Regions from separate parts of the Homo sapiens genome. Here all the other regions are linked to region 1. Evidence: promoter capture Hi-C in 16 types of primary human blood cells and fetal thymus (Javierre and others, 2016). All regions are on one chromosome and are shown on one strand. Each heading gives the region's core, a stretch centred on a gene start or on the middle of the fragment in contact. The rest is flanking DNA. Distances are from core to core; before and after follow the strand shown. Region 1 holds the start of TNS3 (tensin 3). Region 2 has its middle 210 kb from the start of SNORD151. Region 3 overlaps PKD1L1 (polycystin 1 like 1, transient receptor potential channel interacting). Region 4 overlaps TNS3 (tensin 3). Region 5 overlaps PKD1L1 (polycystin 1 like 1, transient receptor potential channel interacting).

Region 1 (2,574 bases), core at 51-2,550:
GATGAGAAATGACACTACCTTCCAGAGCACAGCAGGGGTTGTTCAAGTCTTCCAGAAAAGCAGCTCTTGTTTCTCCTCATGTGGTGGGAGTGGAGTCAGAGCGTGGCTCAGGCCCCACATTCTCAGCTGTTTGGATCTGGGGACTCGAAGTTTCTGGTGGTTACTTCTGAAAGTCTTTTCCAGGATAATTATTCTTGCTCGGTTTCTCTGCCATCTCTGACAGGCTGTTTTCCCTGCTTCCCCCGCTGCCCTGAAGGGGCCAGAGGAACAGGGCAGGACCCCAGGGCTGCGGATGGGTTAGGCAGCTCTGTTCCCGAATCCAAAGCAGTTCTTGGTGACTGTCCTCCAAGACTTGCCCTGGACCCTGCTCCGGGTGGGATTCTGAGACCGCCTGCTCCACGTGGCAGATGAAATCTAGGTCTCTTCTGTGAGAGGCTGGCGGGGAGGATGTTTTCCTGGAAAGGACCACAGGACAAACCGCTGATGAAATTTCTCTTGTGACCTCCCTGGAGGAAGAGCACTTCTGATTTCTGCAAACTTTTTCCATTCCCCCGATCTCACAAATGGGGAAACTGAGGCTAAGCGACTGAGTTCAGGGCCATCTGAATCTCAGGGATGGACAGTCAGGATGGACAACCTATAGGCCTTTCCTCCTCTGAGAATCTCTCTGCTCGGGATCGTTTTTCTGGTTTCCCCTGGCTTGCCTAAATTCTGCTCATTTGTCCCGGCGCATTTTAAGAAGTCATGTGACTTCTAAAGACTTCCCTGACCTCCTCCCTTCATTAGCTGGGTATTTCAGGGGCTTCTACGGCACCCTAGGCTTTCCGGAGCGGCTGTGCTCCTTTATGTATGCGCGACTCCCACTAGGCTATGAGCTACAGGAGGGAGGGTAGGTCTTGCTCCCGGAGAGCACCTTAATCACAGGCGCTGAATGAAAGAATGAACTGGTTGTGCAGGAACCAGGATCCGAACCCGCCTCCCCAGGTACTCTAACACCGGCCCGGCGGAACCTGCAAGCCTCCAGACCACTTGGAGCCTGGGCTGCTCAATGGGTCTGATAATTCCAGGTCCTCTCTGCGGCCAGCGAAGGGAGGTCCCAGGGCGCACCTCGGCAGGGCGGGGGACCCCGGTGAAGGGCGCCTGGAGGCGCGCTGCATTGTTAGGGTGATGAGGCCAGGTGACCCGCCAGGCTCGGGGCGCGGGCGCGGGGGCCGGCCGTGGCGATTGCCCGCGCCGCCTCGAGGGGGCCCTGCCGCGGGCGCCGGCAGCCAGCCAGGAGGACGGGCCCGCCCGCGCGCTACTCGGAGCCCAGCCTCGTTGCGGCCATCGCCCTGCCGGACCGCGCCTCAGGCTCCCCCAGGTACTGGGGCCGGGGAAGGAGGAAACGCGGCCACGCGCCGCGGTCCTCTTTGTTTCGGGCCCGGCGCGGGCTTTCGCGCTCCGGGCGCAGGAACGAGGCTTGGGGAGCACAGAGATCTGGAGCTGGGGCGCGGGGACTGAGTTCGGGGAGCGCGGAGACAGAGTTCGGGGAGCGCGGGGTACGGGAGCTCAGGGCGCGGGGATGGGGTCACGGGAGAACCCAGGTTAGGGAGCGCGGGGACCCGGTTGGGGGCGCACGGGCAAGGGGTTTGGTGCGCGCGGGTACGGGGTTTGCGGCGCGTGGGGGGCGGGGGCTCGGCAGGAGTCCCAGGACAGGGGCTGGGGCGCGGGCCAGCTTCGCCGGAGTCCGGGGACGGGGGCGCTGACTGGCTGGGTTTGGGGACTGGCTGGGGCGCAGGACCACTCGAGTGGGACCCGTGGCGCCCGGGCGCCCTGGACTGAGGGCAGAGACCGGAGCAGCTATGTCGCAGTCGCTGTCGGGACCGAGCGGACTTTGCTCCCTAGGACTCCGTCTCGAGACTCCAGGTGGAGAGCGCAGCTAGGGGCTTCAATGGGCAGGCTCAAGACCCTTCTCCTACTTTTTCTAGGCAAGCTCTCCAGTGCGTCTCTTTCCCTTTCCCTTTGGTGGGTGGGAGGCAGGGGGTCTTTACGCGCTTCCTTTTTTTCCCTGAAGGACGGGACCTCGGGGTGGGGGGATATTCTGGGGTGGGGGGTGCTGTCCCAGGCTGGGGGCCAGCTGTGTGGCATGTGCCTCCTGGCACGCGGGAGCTGTCGCTGACAAGCAGGAGGAGGGAGGGTCCCGGACGGCCCAGGGGTCTCTGTGTCGGTGCTGTGCAGCGGCCTGACATGTGAGTCCCGGGTCCTTTGCTTGGAGTGATTTGAGTGTCTGTGGCGGGAAGAGATTCAGGCGTTCCTCAGGCATTCTCCAGACAGTGTCAGCAGATGACCCGAACTCCAGCGTGGTTGAAAAACTCAAAGCGCCATCAGGGTGTGGGGCCAGCAGAGAGCACTACTGAGGGTGGTCACAACCCCCTGGGAAGCCCCCAGGCTTCCTTGGGGCGCATTCACACACTTTGATCTTCCGGGTTGGCTTTCCCCCCATTTTTTTCACTATTTGAATGCATGATCATGGAGGACTCTGAAAATATACTGAAAAGTATGAATGCAGAACTCATTGTATTAATATTGCATGGC
Region 2 (2,574 bases), core at 53-2,552, 320 kb after region 1:
CCGATTGACAGAGTTCTTCGTGACAGTGTGTTTTAGAGCTGTGCACTGATGATCCTCCTTCTCTGTTTGTGGGTGAGAGTCAGGCTGGTCAGTCCACGCTGTGTGATCATGCTCCTGGGACTCCATTTTTGAAAAGGGTTGCTGTGAACATGGAATGAAATTATGTGTAAGAAGAACTAGTACAAAGCCAAGGACATAGTGAACTTTCCATAGATTGTGCTATATCTTCATCATCACCATCATCATCATCTTCACCATTATCACAATCAACATCACCATCATCATTATCCCCATTACCATCATCATCATCACCATTATCACCATCTCCACCATCATCATTATCACCATTACCATATCCTCATCACTGTCATCATCACCATTACCATCATCATCATCATGGTCATCACATCATCACCATCATCATCATCATCATCACCATTACTGAAAAAATCATCACTTTATCATCTCTTCATTACCATCATCATCATCGCTGTCATCATCATTACCACCACCATCATCATCATCACCATCATCACCATCATTATCACCACCATCCTCAACATCACCATCACTATCACCATTATCACTACCATATTTATCAACATTTTTTTGTTATCAGGCATCAGATATGATCATCTTTGACAACCTAAAGCCAGGGAAGGAGTATGAGTTGGGGGAAGCCACTCTGGTGGGTGTTAGTTTATGTAAAAACTATATTTACATGTTTGTGTCTGTGTATGTGCCATTGCCATGTGTTATTCTCTCTCCCTCTCTCTCATTTTTTTTTTTTTTTGGCTTCTGAAGAGCTATTGAAAAGTATTATAAGCTCAGCACAGTGGTGCATGCCTGTTCTCTCAGCTATTCAGGAGTCCAGCCTGGGTAACAGAGTGAAACTCCATCTCTAAGAAAGAGAGAGACAGAGAAAGAAAGAGAGAGGGAGGGAGAAAGAGAGAGGGAGAGAGAGAGAAAAAGAGGGAGAGAGAGAGAAAAAGAGATAGAGAAGGTGAGAGGGAGAGAGGGGGCGAAAGAGAAAGAGAGAAAGAAGAAAGAAAGAGAGAGAAAGAAAAGAAAAGAAAAAGGAAGAAGGAAGGGAGGAAGGAAGGGGAGAGAAAAGTATGATAGGAACTCAAAATAGGAAACATCTACCTGGGTACTAGACAAGCTTCCCAAGGGCGTAAGAAGCAAACACCTCCTTGCTTCTCTCCTCTTTGCAGTCTTATACAGAAGTTTCAATTTCTCTCCTTTCTTTGGTGATTCACAGTGATGTTCATCCACGGTTTTCTCTAAGTAACCCCCTTTTGCATCCTGGCTACCAGAAGTAGCATCTTAGGCAGGGACTCCAGTCTGGCCAGTGTCATTCCTGGCTGCCCAGTGCTGTAGGAATGTCTCAGAGGAGCTTCCTTACAAGGGTATTTATAGGAGTGACTTTTCTCTAAGCTTTATAATGCTAACTTCTAGGGTATAACTATTTTACACCAAAACCATTGATTTTCTCTATTGAGTATCCTCTATGTAGCTTCAATAGTGAGAGACATGCCTGGAAAGTCAGGGCCCTGAGGTGGGGGTTTCCTAAATCTTGGAGCAACTCTCCTAAGCCCATACAGCCTGAGATTCACTGTGGGCGAGGCTGGTCATGAGGAAGAGCTTCAGGGGCAACAGGAACCTGGGGTCTTCTTAGGGCAGCCAAAGTCTGTCTCCAACCCCTCTCCCAAGATTTGGAGTGCACGGGGGGCATGTTGGGAGAGCTTGGCCGCTCTATGATGGCCCAGTTGAAAGCAAAGAAGAAGACTCCTGGAATGAAATACTGACAGCTGCCTGAGGTGTGGGTGAAGCTGAAGGATGTCTACTTGCCACCCTGGGTAAGATGGCAAAGTTACTAGTCCTTCTGGCATATGGCCAAACATGACTGGGTGTGTCTCATACATACTTAGTGTCTTCAATGGGTTTATTTCCCTCTAGTTACCCAAAGCAAAGCAGGGAAAGGCATGTGGCAAGTTCACACAGTTACAAGTAAAAGTGAGGGTTGAATTAAAAAGGAAAAGATTTGAACAGATACTTTCTGGAAGAAGATACACAGATGGTAAGGCAGCACATGAATGTAACAGCATGAGACACTAGGGATATGCCGGTTAAAAGCACAGTGAGCTCTCATTCCACCTCCCTTAGTTCAAAAACAAGGCAAAGCTAAACAAAACCAAAAATGGACATTATCAAGTTCTGGCAGAGGCAGAGAAACTGGAACTCTTACGCTTGCTGGTGGAGATACAGAATGGGTCAACTGCTTAGAAAACAGTTTGAAGGGGCCGGGTGCGGTGGCTCACGCCTGTAATCCCAGCACTTTGGGAGGCTGAGGCAGTTGGATCACGAGGTCAGGAGTTTGAGACCAGCCTGGCCAACATGGTGAAACCCCATCTCTACTAAAAATACAAAATTAGCTGGGCCTGGTGGCACCTGCCTGTAGTCCCAGCTACTTGGGAGGCTGAGGCAGGAGAATCGCTTGAACTCGGGAGGCGGAGGTTGCAATGAGCTAAGATTGCACCACTGCACTCCAGCCTGGGCGACAGAGCAAGACTC
Region 3 (2,574 bases), core at 31-2,530, 320 kb before region 1:
TAATTTTAATTATAACTAAAGTCACCTAAAGAATGTCAAAAGTAAACTTTCATTTATAATGAGCACCAAGATTTCTTAAAATCCCATTTCTCAGCTGCCTCCAGGTTTTTCCCTTTCCGATTTTTTTTTTTTTTGGGATGGAGTCTCGCTCTGTTGCCTAGGAGGGAGTGCAGTGGTGCAATCTGGGCTCACTGCAAGCTCCGCCTCCCGGGTTCACACCATTCTCCTGCCTCAGCCTCCAGAGTAGCTGGGACTACAGGCGTCCGCCACCACACCTGGCTAATTTTTTGTATTTTTAGTAAAAACAGGGTTTCACCGTGTTAGCCAGGATGGTCTTGATCTCCTGACCTCGTGATCCGCCCACCTTGGCCTCCCAAAGTGCTGGGATTACAGGCTTGCGTCACCGTGCCTGGCCTTCCCTTTCCAATTTTTAGGGAACCTTCAGGAAAAAAAAAATCCCTCTGGGGGAGACCCTGCACCCAGCATCTGCAGGGTGGAGGCGCTCTGGCCAGGCAGAGACTCTATCCTGAGGCCCCCTAGCCTGGCTTGCTCCTCCATGCTTGAGGTGGCATCTGGCTCCAGCCCAAAGTAGGGGGTGTGGAGGGGCTTCAGAAAGACAGAGTGGCTGGGAGGAGTAAGGGGTGTGGATGGGTAGACACTAATATTCCCCCCCATATCCTCATCCTCATTGGCTTATTAAAGTGAGCAAATATGCTTTTTGTATATGTATCAGCTACTATTAACATTTAAAATTCTTTGTTATGGAAATTTTAAAGCATAAATAACAGTAGAAAGAATAGTGCAACAAACCCATCACTTTAAAAGACTACCAGGGTCATACCAGAAGGTTGCCAGAGCCAGGCCAAGGAGAGTGCCCCAGGCCCCTGATGGGCTACTTGGAGCATCTAAAAAGTAACATCTACAATTGAATGAATAATGCTAATATTTTAAAAATAATTATGCTGAAAGAGAAAGAGAAGCTTCTGCTGTTCCCACCAAGCAGGCAGACACAAGTAACATATTGGTCACCTTTGGAAGTAACTAGTGCCCCAGCTTCTTACTCTGAATGTTGGTAATTAAGGGAAAGAATTAAGCATTTATTCTTATTTTCCTGACCAAACTATAGTTTAGGAAACCTCATAGTTCTAGTTGATAAGAAAATTTTTTTCTCCTCTCTCCTTTTTTTTTTTTAGCAAAAGAACTTTTGTGCATCTCAAATCAAACAATTGCACAAGGGTATGTTTTGGAGACAATAAGGGAAATTTTATTATAAACTAGGTTTAAATTATACTAAGAACTTATTGTTAATTTTTAAGGTGAGATAGTAGTGTTGTGTTGATGTAGGAAAATTCCCTTAGTTTTTAGAGATGTATATTTAGTATTTAGGGATTAAATGTCATGATTTCTGAGAATGACTTAAGAATATTTCAGTGAAGAAAAAAATAGGGAAAGCAAACATCTGTTGTGTATACTGCAAATGATTTTCTTATTATATTCATTGATTTAAAAAATTTATATATACACATAGGTGCCAAAACCCAGAAGCATAACATTTATATTTTTGACGTTTGGAAGCTTAAATTTTTTATGTAATCAAATATCAGATATCTTTGCTATTTTTCCATTAATTTTATGCATAGGAAGTTTTTTCTCATGAGTATATAAATATTTACTTATTATTTTAGTTGGTTTTTTTTTAACCTTTTATTTTTGTCTATAAAATAGATGTAGTGTTTATTCTGGTGTTGTCTAAAGCCCAGACCTAAGAATACCATTCTGTCACTATGCAAACAAATAATGGGAGATCTACAGTTAAGACTAAGTTTCTAGTAATTTACCAGTACATTAGATGTGATGGACATTTTAATGAGACATCTTCTCTTCTTGATACTTAGATATGGAGGTCTCAGCCTGTGAGGCTGGGAGTGACGTTTGAAGCTGCAGTCTTCTGTGATATTTCCCAAGGTCTTTCTTACACCTGGAACTTGATGGACTCTGAAGGGCTCCCTGTCTCCCTCCCTGCTGCTGTGGACACTCACAGACAGACCCTCATCCTCCCGAGCCACACCTTGGAGTATGGGAACTACACTGCCCTTGCCAAGGTCAGCTGGCTGACTTACTGCTCTACTGGCCCAATGAAACCCATGCTTCTCATCGCCCTGGAGCAAGAGCTCAGCATTTGGAATTCAACACCTGTTCGATCCAGGAAAAGGGAGGTTGTTTAAAAAAAAAAAAATCTGCATTGGATTTTAAGAGAAATGTTTAATTCCCCCAAAGAGAACAAATTATGTTCAAATGCAGTCAAAGCAATTGATGAAAAGCTCCTTCCAATGTGTATAACAAAACCTTCCTGTGTACCTAATTTGAATAAGCCCTGTGCTGGTGCCGGGATGTCAGGAGAATGTGTGGCCCTGCCATTTAGGGGCCAATCACCCAGAAAGGAAAGGAGACGACAGTCAGAGGGCAGGGCATCCAAGAGGCACTCACGGTGACTGCCTGGCACTTTGATTCTCAGCATGTGCTTGGTGCATTTTGGCTGGAAAAAGTGGTGAAAATATGCGAGTTAAAAGAGGG
Region 4 (2,574 bases), core at 31-2,530, 290 kb after region 1:
GCACTGGATCCCAGAAATACAGCACACTGTGAAGGTCTGTTGGACTCATTAGCATAGGGCAGTGACTTCTTGTTCTTTTGGTTGTGCTGTTTGTACTTTTCCACTCTCAGATAGTTTTGCCATTCAGTGGCTTTTTATGATGTGTTTTCTCTTTGGACTCATGGGCTGGCCTAAAGCAGATGCACTGTTTACTGTTAATAGCAATGTGGTAGAGTGCTGCTCCCGTGCAGCTGAGTGCTTGCTTTCTGGAAGGTTTTAAAGATCCAGGCTCCTGGTTAAATCCCACCCAGAAGACTGACCTCCTTCCAGCTCTTTTCAGTGATTCATTATAGGTATCATTTTGTGTCTGAGCCTTTCTCACCTCTCCTCTTTGGGAGAGGATTCAGCTGGAGATTCATGATCCTCTTTCTTAGCTGCAAGCTCATTCCCTTCGTTGGGGATTCTTGCACAATGTTTGAGGGCCTCTCCCAAGGGACCTCTCCAGCCCCCACACTGTCATTGCAAGGGTTCCCGCCCTGTATCTGGCCTAGCCTGTGCTCATCCAGCTGTCCTGCAGCCCGGCTACCATTCCTAGGACGAAGATGGTTCTTGGCAGCCTCTTTTGCAGTGACTGGACTCGTATTCAGAGAAGAGCCTTTTCAACTGTAGCTCCTGGCTTTTATGTTCTCTCTATTGAATTCTCCCATGCTCCCATTTTCAAAAAATTCTTCTTTCTTTAAATTTCTTGCCACAGCTGGAGATTTGGCCAATGAACTCGTCCGGCACTTTTTGATCGAGTGTACCCCGAAGGGAGTGCGGTTGAAAGGGTGCTCGAATGAACCATATTTCGGTGAGTTGCTTGAGAGGTTGCTGTCAATGTTCTGAACTCATGAGGCCTGGATTCCCTCTGCTCACCAACCTGAGATTTGGGACTATCACTCTTATGGTGGTTTACTCATATTTCAGTCCCCAGTTCTGAAATCCTGCTGATCTGCATTATTATCTTTAAGATAAACTAGATTTGAAGTTGTTCTTAAAAGCTCTGTCAAAACCAAACAAATGAAAAGCACCATATCAGACGTAGGAATTACAGACGTCAATAAGATTCTATCCTAGTTGGCAGGCAGGTAAGTCCTGAGAAGGTTGGAGCTCCAGCATGACCCTATCCCACAGCACAAGGAACAACATAGAGCTCCCAACAGAGCACCCTCCCTTCCCTGCAAATTGGGAGCCTTCCCTACCTCACGAGCTTGTTGGAAAGATGACTTGAGCAATCCACACAAAGCACAGTGCAGCCTTAGGCATCATTGTTATTAGAGCTTTGTTAAGAAGCATTGTGCAGGGGTAATATATATGGTTGAAGTTGGAGTTGGCTTGATGTCAACCCTCCTGATTCAAGATCCAACAAACTGTATGCTTTAGTCTTTATATAATTTGGTAATGATGTGTCTATGATAAGAATGATAAACAGTTCCATTTACTTACCTCTCAACTATCTTGTGGAACTTTATACTTCTTTGAAGTTTTACACAAAGCTGCACACTAATCTAACATACCAGTTGCTAAAAAGATAAGGGCTCAGCCTTTGCATCCGTTTCATTCCAGCTGATAAATTGGCTGAGCACACAACATCTACAGCAGTTGTTGACTCTTGTTTGCTGTCTGTCCACTTTGCAGGGAGCCTGACGGCCTTGGTGTGCCAGCATTCCATCACGCCCTTGGCCTTGCCGTGCAAGCTGCTTATCCCAGAGAGAGGTAAGGGGTCCTCAGTGCTAGTCAGGCTCTGTGTAGATTGTCTGCAGTCAAGGCCACCGGTTTTAGAGATCCATGAAGATCCACTGAGAAAAATAATAAGACTGGAAGTTTTTTCGTATTCTCTTGGTTGAACCCAAGAAAAGGCCAATGAGTTCATCCAAATTAAGGAGAGAAGAGGAGATTCTACTTCACTGACAGCTCCCAGATAGCTTTACATCATGGATTTTGATGAAAGATTTCTATAGAGCAAAGATTCTGTAGTTTAAAAATATAAAACCCTCAGACAAAGAAGGCTTCAGGGTCATTGACATTTAATTTTTACGTTTCTACGGAATGGGCAAAATGTTGATGTTGTTGAACTTAGATGATGGATGCACTGTTCTTTTTACTTTTATGTTTGTTAAACAATATCCATAATGAAATTAAATAACACCCACAGCATGTCAGGGCGATGTGACCGTATGTCCCACTTTCCTAAGCAGTCACAACTTCACATAAAAATGGTCTAACTTAATATATAGGTAAATGTGATTTACTTTTCAAAGTGTCATTGTTCATATGACTAATTCGGTGATTAGAAAAATATTTTGTTAGGCCTTGTCATCTCTACTTTTATTCAGAATGTGATCATGGTTTCTATGGGCCAAATTATTGTCCCAAAGAGAAACTCTTGACTCTGCAAAACCATTGCATGTCACCATCTGGGAATTCTGTCATCAAATTGTCTAACTTTGTCATGAGGATTCTTGGTCAGGAGCAGGACTCATTTCTGTATTTTCTTGCCCCTTCCTACAGATCCATTGGAGGAAATAGCAGAAAGTTCTCCCCAGACGGCAGCCA
Region 5 (2,574 bases), core at 45-2,544, 260 kb before region 1:
CTGGTGCCCACCCTCTGAGATCCCATCACAAATCTGTAAGACTCCAGTTAGGTTAGAGTCCCTGCACAGCAGCTTGATATGAATGTCATTCTACGGAACTGTGGGCATTCAGTGATCTCACCCCAGCCAGTGTTGGTGCCTGGGAACAGGTAGGTAGAGGCTACAGGTAGGGAACAAGCAGCACCATCCACAGGGGCGGTGGGAGGCACAGGCAGGGTCTCCAAAACATTGCCAATGCCTCCTAGCCTTGTTCTGCTAGCAGGAGAGGGAGAGAGGGAGGAACATAATGGCACCTGCATGTTTCAAGAATTTTGTATATTTGTATTGCTTAATCTTTACAATAGCAGCGAGACTGGCATTCTTAGCCATAGTTCACAATGAAAGTTCCTCAGACCCAGCATGGCACAGCCACCTAGCACAGAGGCTGGTCCATTACAAGGTTTCTTTGGTTCTGGAGTCCATGCTTGTGGGGTGCTGCTCACTGGACCACAGGCCAGCTCCCTGCCTTCAAAGCCCTTCTAACTCAGCTTCCAGCAAGTGTAAAAATGTATCAGTGAAGCCCAGCAGGGACTTTTGTGTGTAAGGGGCTAGGGGTGGCAATCAGTCTTTTCCTATATGTCTATTTTCATGAGCAATTTTCTTTATATCTCTCCTTTTGTTTATAGCCACCCAGAAAACTTGCTTCCCAGTATTTTTATTATGGGTTCTGTGATTCTTTATGGATTTTTGGTCGCTAAAAGTAGACAAGTAGATCATCATGAAAAAAAGAAAGCTGGTTACATCTTTCTGCAAGAAGCTTCCCTGCCGGGCCATCAGCTATATGCGGTCGTCATTGACACTGGCTTCCGAGCTCCGGCCAGGTTGACCTCAAAGGTAGCTCGAGCATCTGGGGGTACTCTTTGATGGTGTCTAAGCAGTGTCAACATCAGAAGTGAGGATTTGGTGATTTGGCTGCCCCGTCTGTCACCTGTCACAGCAGCCTCATCTCATTGCTGAGGCAAAGCTTGCCCGCCCTTTCCACTGCCCTCCCTTGGCCTGCACATCTGTCAGGGTGAAGAGCAGACCCCTTCACCTTCTGCAGCTGCTCCAATCCCTTCTCCTTCTGTCTCCACTGTGGAAAGCAGCCCGGGGAGATATGTTCTGTCTCTGAGTGGATCTTTGAGACTCTGAGAATGAGTTGTACTCTTCTGAGCTTGGGGCTGAAGACAACAGTCCCAGAGAAGCTGGTGGAGGATGAAGATGGGGTGGGAAGAAGGATGCGGTGGAGGAGGAGGAAATAGTCTAGCACTGGGCCCAGTGGAGCAGGGGTGCCGCGGTGAGCTGTGGAGGTGAGGTCTGCAGGGGCAGAAATTGAGCCCGGCAGAGCCATGTGCAATTCGAAGTGCGTGTGACACAAATCCCTCAGAGAGGGAGACTCCCTCTGCCCTTGGAACTCACGCTTCCATTTCCCGAGGGAACCATGGTTACTTTATGGAAGCAATAGGATTGGGGTGTGGATGAGAAAGAGTTAGATGGGAGGATGAATAAGATGGGGTGCCACAGTGCAGTAGGATAGATGGGGACACAACACATTTTTAAAGCTTATGTGGTCCTTACTCACCATAAGCCCTTCGTCTACCAACTGTATATTTAAATTGTCTTTCAGATAAACATACATGTATATATTCACAAGCAATGCATACACATAGGAATGTTCTTAACCTAACAAAGGAAGATTTAGTGGTGAAGCTTTAGATGATTTCTAAGGGATGTCTGCTGTCAGCACTGCTATTTATCATTGTACTAGAAATCCTGGTTAAAAACAATAAAGCAAGAAATAAAACAGGAATATAAGTTTCCAAAAGGGAGAAAGAGATGGTTCTTCGTACAGGATGAGGTTGTCTACATAGCAAATGAAGAAGCATCTTCACTCTAATGATTAGCACTAATAACATTAAAGAAACTTGCTGAATTTGTGATTAAGAAAAAATCATCAAAATAATCTCTATAAAACAGCAATAACTATTTATAACATGGAGTTGAAAACAAGAACCTCTTTGTCACAGTAAAAAATGGTGGGGTGCCTAGAAGTGAATTCATCAAACCCCACATACAAGACCATCATGAAGGAACTATCCCTGATATGCATAAGAGATCCAAATAAAGAGCTATGTTCATGGATGAGAAAGCCGATTTTCCTTTGTCATTTCTCCCAAATTAATCTATAACATTAATAATAATAGTGTGAATGAAATTCTATTAATATACCCCCTTTACAAATGAAAACCTAAGGCATAATGAGGTTAAATCCAATTAAATCTATTCATAATTCCAGGACAGTGTTTTGTGGAACTTGGAAAACTGATCCTAAAATTCAGGTAGAAAAGAATACAAGAGAATTACAAGACCAGTCATGCCAACTCTCAAGAGAAGAACAAGGCAGGGGCCTCCCAACTCGATATCCAGGCTTATTTTGAAACTGTAGCACCTGAGATCGTGTCATGACCTCGGGAGAGGTACTGAGGAGGGATTTCTAGGGAAGACTAGAGGTCTTACAAACCACAGGAAAGGGTGCACTGTTTCAAAAAATATTTT

What was found. Contacts are between HindIII fragments. The CHiCAGO score rates a contact against its expected background, and 5 or more counts as called.
Region 2: a contact is called between a fragment that was not itself captured here and the fragment with the promoter of TNS3 in region 1, in 3 of 17 cell types (erythroblasts, total B cells and megakaryocytes). The highest score is 11.4, in erythroblasts.
Region 3: a contact is called between a fragment that was not itself captured here and the fragment with the promoter of TNS3 in region 1, in 1 of 17 cell types (total B cells). The highest score is 5.3, in total B cells.
Region 4: a fragment that was not itself captured here is called in contact with the fragment with the promoter of TNS3 in region 1 in 6 of 17 cell types (erythroblasts, M2 macrophages, M0 macrophages and 3 more); the score reaches 12.5 in erythroblasts.
Region 5: a fragment that was not itself captured here is called in contact with the fragment with the promoter of TNS3 in region 1 in 1 of 17 cell types (total B cells); the score reaches 6.6 in total B cells.

Annotation. Positions count from the first base shown.
Region 1 is chr7:47,580,837-47,583,410 of GRCh38, reverse strand. TNS3 (tensin 3) reads left to right here and starts at 1,300. Exons shown (of 31, transcript NM_022748.12): 1 at 1,300-1,360. RefSeq lists enhancers at 889-1,426, 1,427-1,964. The HindIII fragment of the contact is 9,706 bases long and covers 1-2,574 here.
Region 2 is chr7:47,258,312-47,260,885 of GRCh38, reverse strand. No RefSeq gene overlaps it. Among named protein-coding and RNA genes, the nearest start is that of SNORD151, 210 kb to the left of the region's middle. The HindIII fragment of the contact is 275 bases long and covers 1,165-1,439 here.
Region 3 is chr7:47,897,516-47,900,089 of GRCh38, reverse strand. PKD1L1 (polycystin 1 like 1, transient receptor potential channel interacting) reads left to right here. Exons shown (of 57, transcript NM_138295.5): 14 at 1,896-2,102. Among named protein-coding and RNA genes, the nearest start is that of PKD1L1, 50 kb to the left of the region's middle. RefSeq lists an enhancer at 2,347-2,574. The HindIII fragment of the contact is 595 bases long and covers 983-1,577 here.
Region 4 is chr7:47,291,988-47,294,561 of GRCh38, reverse strand. TNS3 (tensin 3) reads left to right here. Exons shown (of 31, transcript NM_022748.12): 25 at 734-829; 26 at 1,657-1,734; 27 at 2,530-2,574. Among named protein-coding and RNA genes, the nearest start is that of SNORD151, 170 kb to the left of the region's middle. RefSeq lists an enhancer at 300-1,499. The HindIII fragment of the contact is 2,934 bases long and covers 1-2,574 here.
Region 5 is chr7:47,841,261-47,843,834 of GRCh38, reverse strand. It overlaps PKD1L1 (polycystin 1 like 1, transient receptor potential channel interacting), which reads left to right. Exons shown (of 57, transcript NM_138295.5): 34 at 666-873. Among named protein-coding and RNA genes, the nearest start is that of PKD1L1-AS1, 47 kb to the right of the region's middle. The HindIII fragment of the contact is 577 bases long and covers 1,006-1,582 here.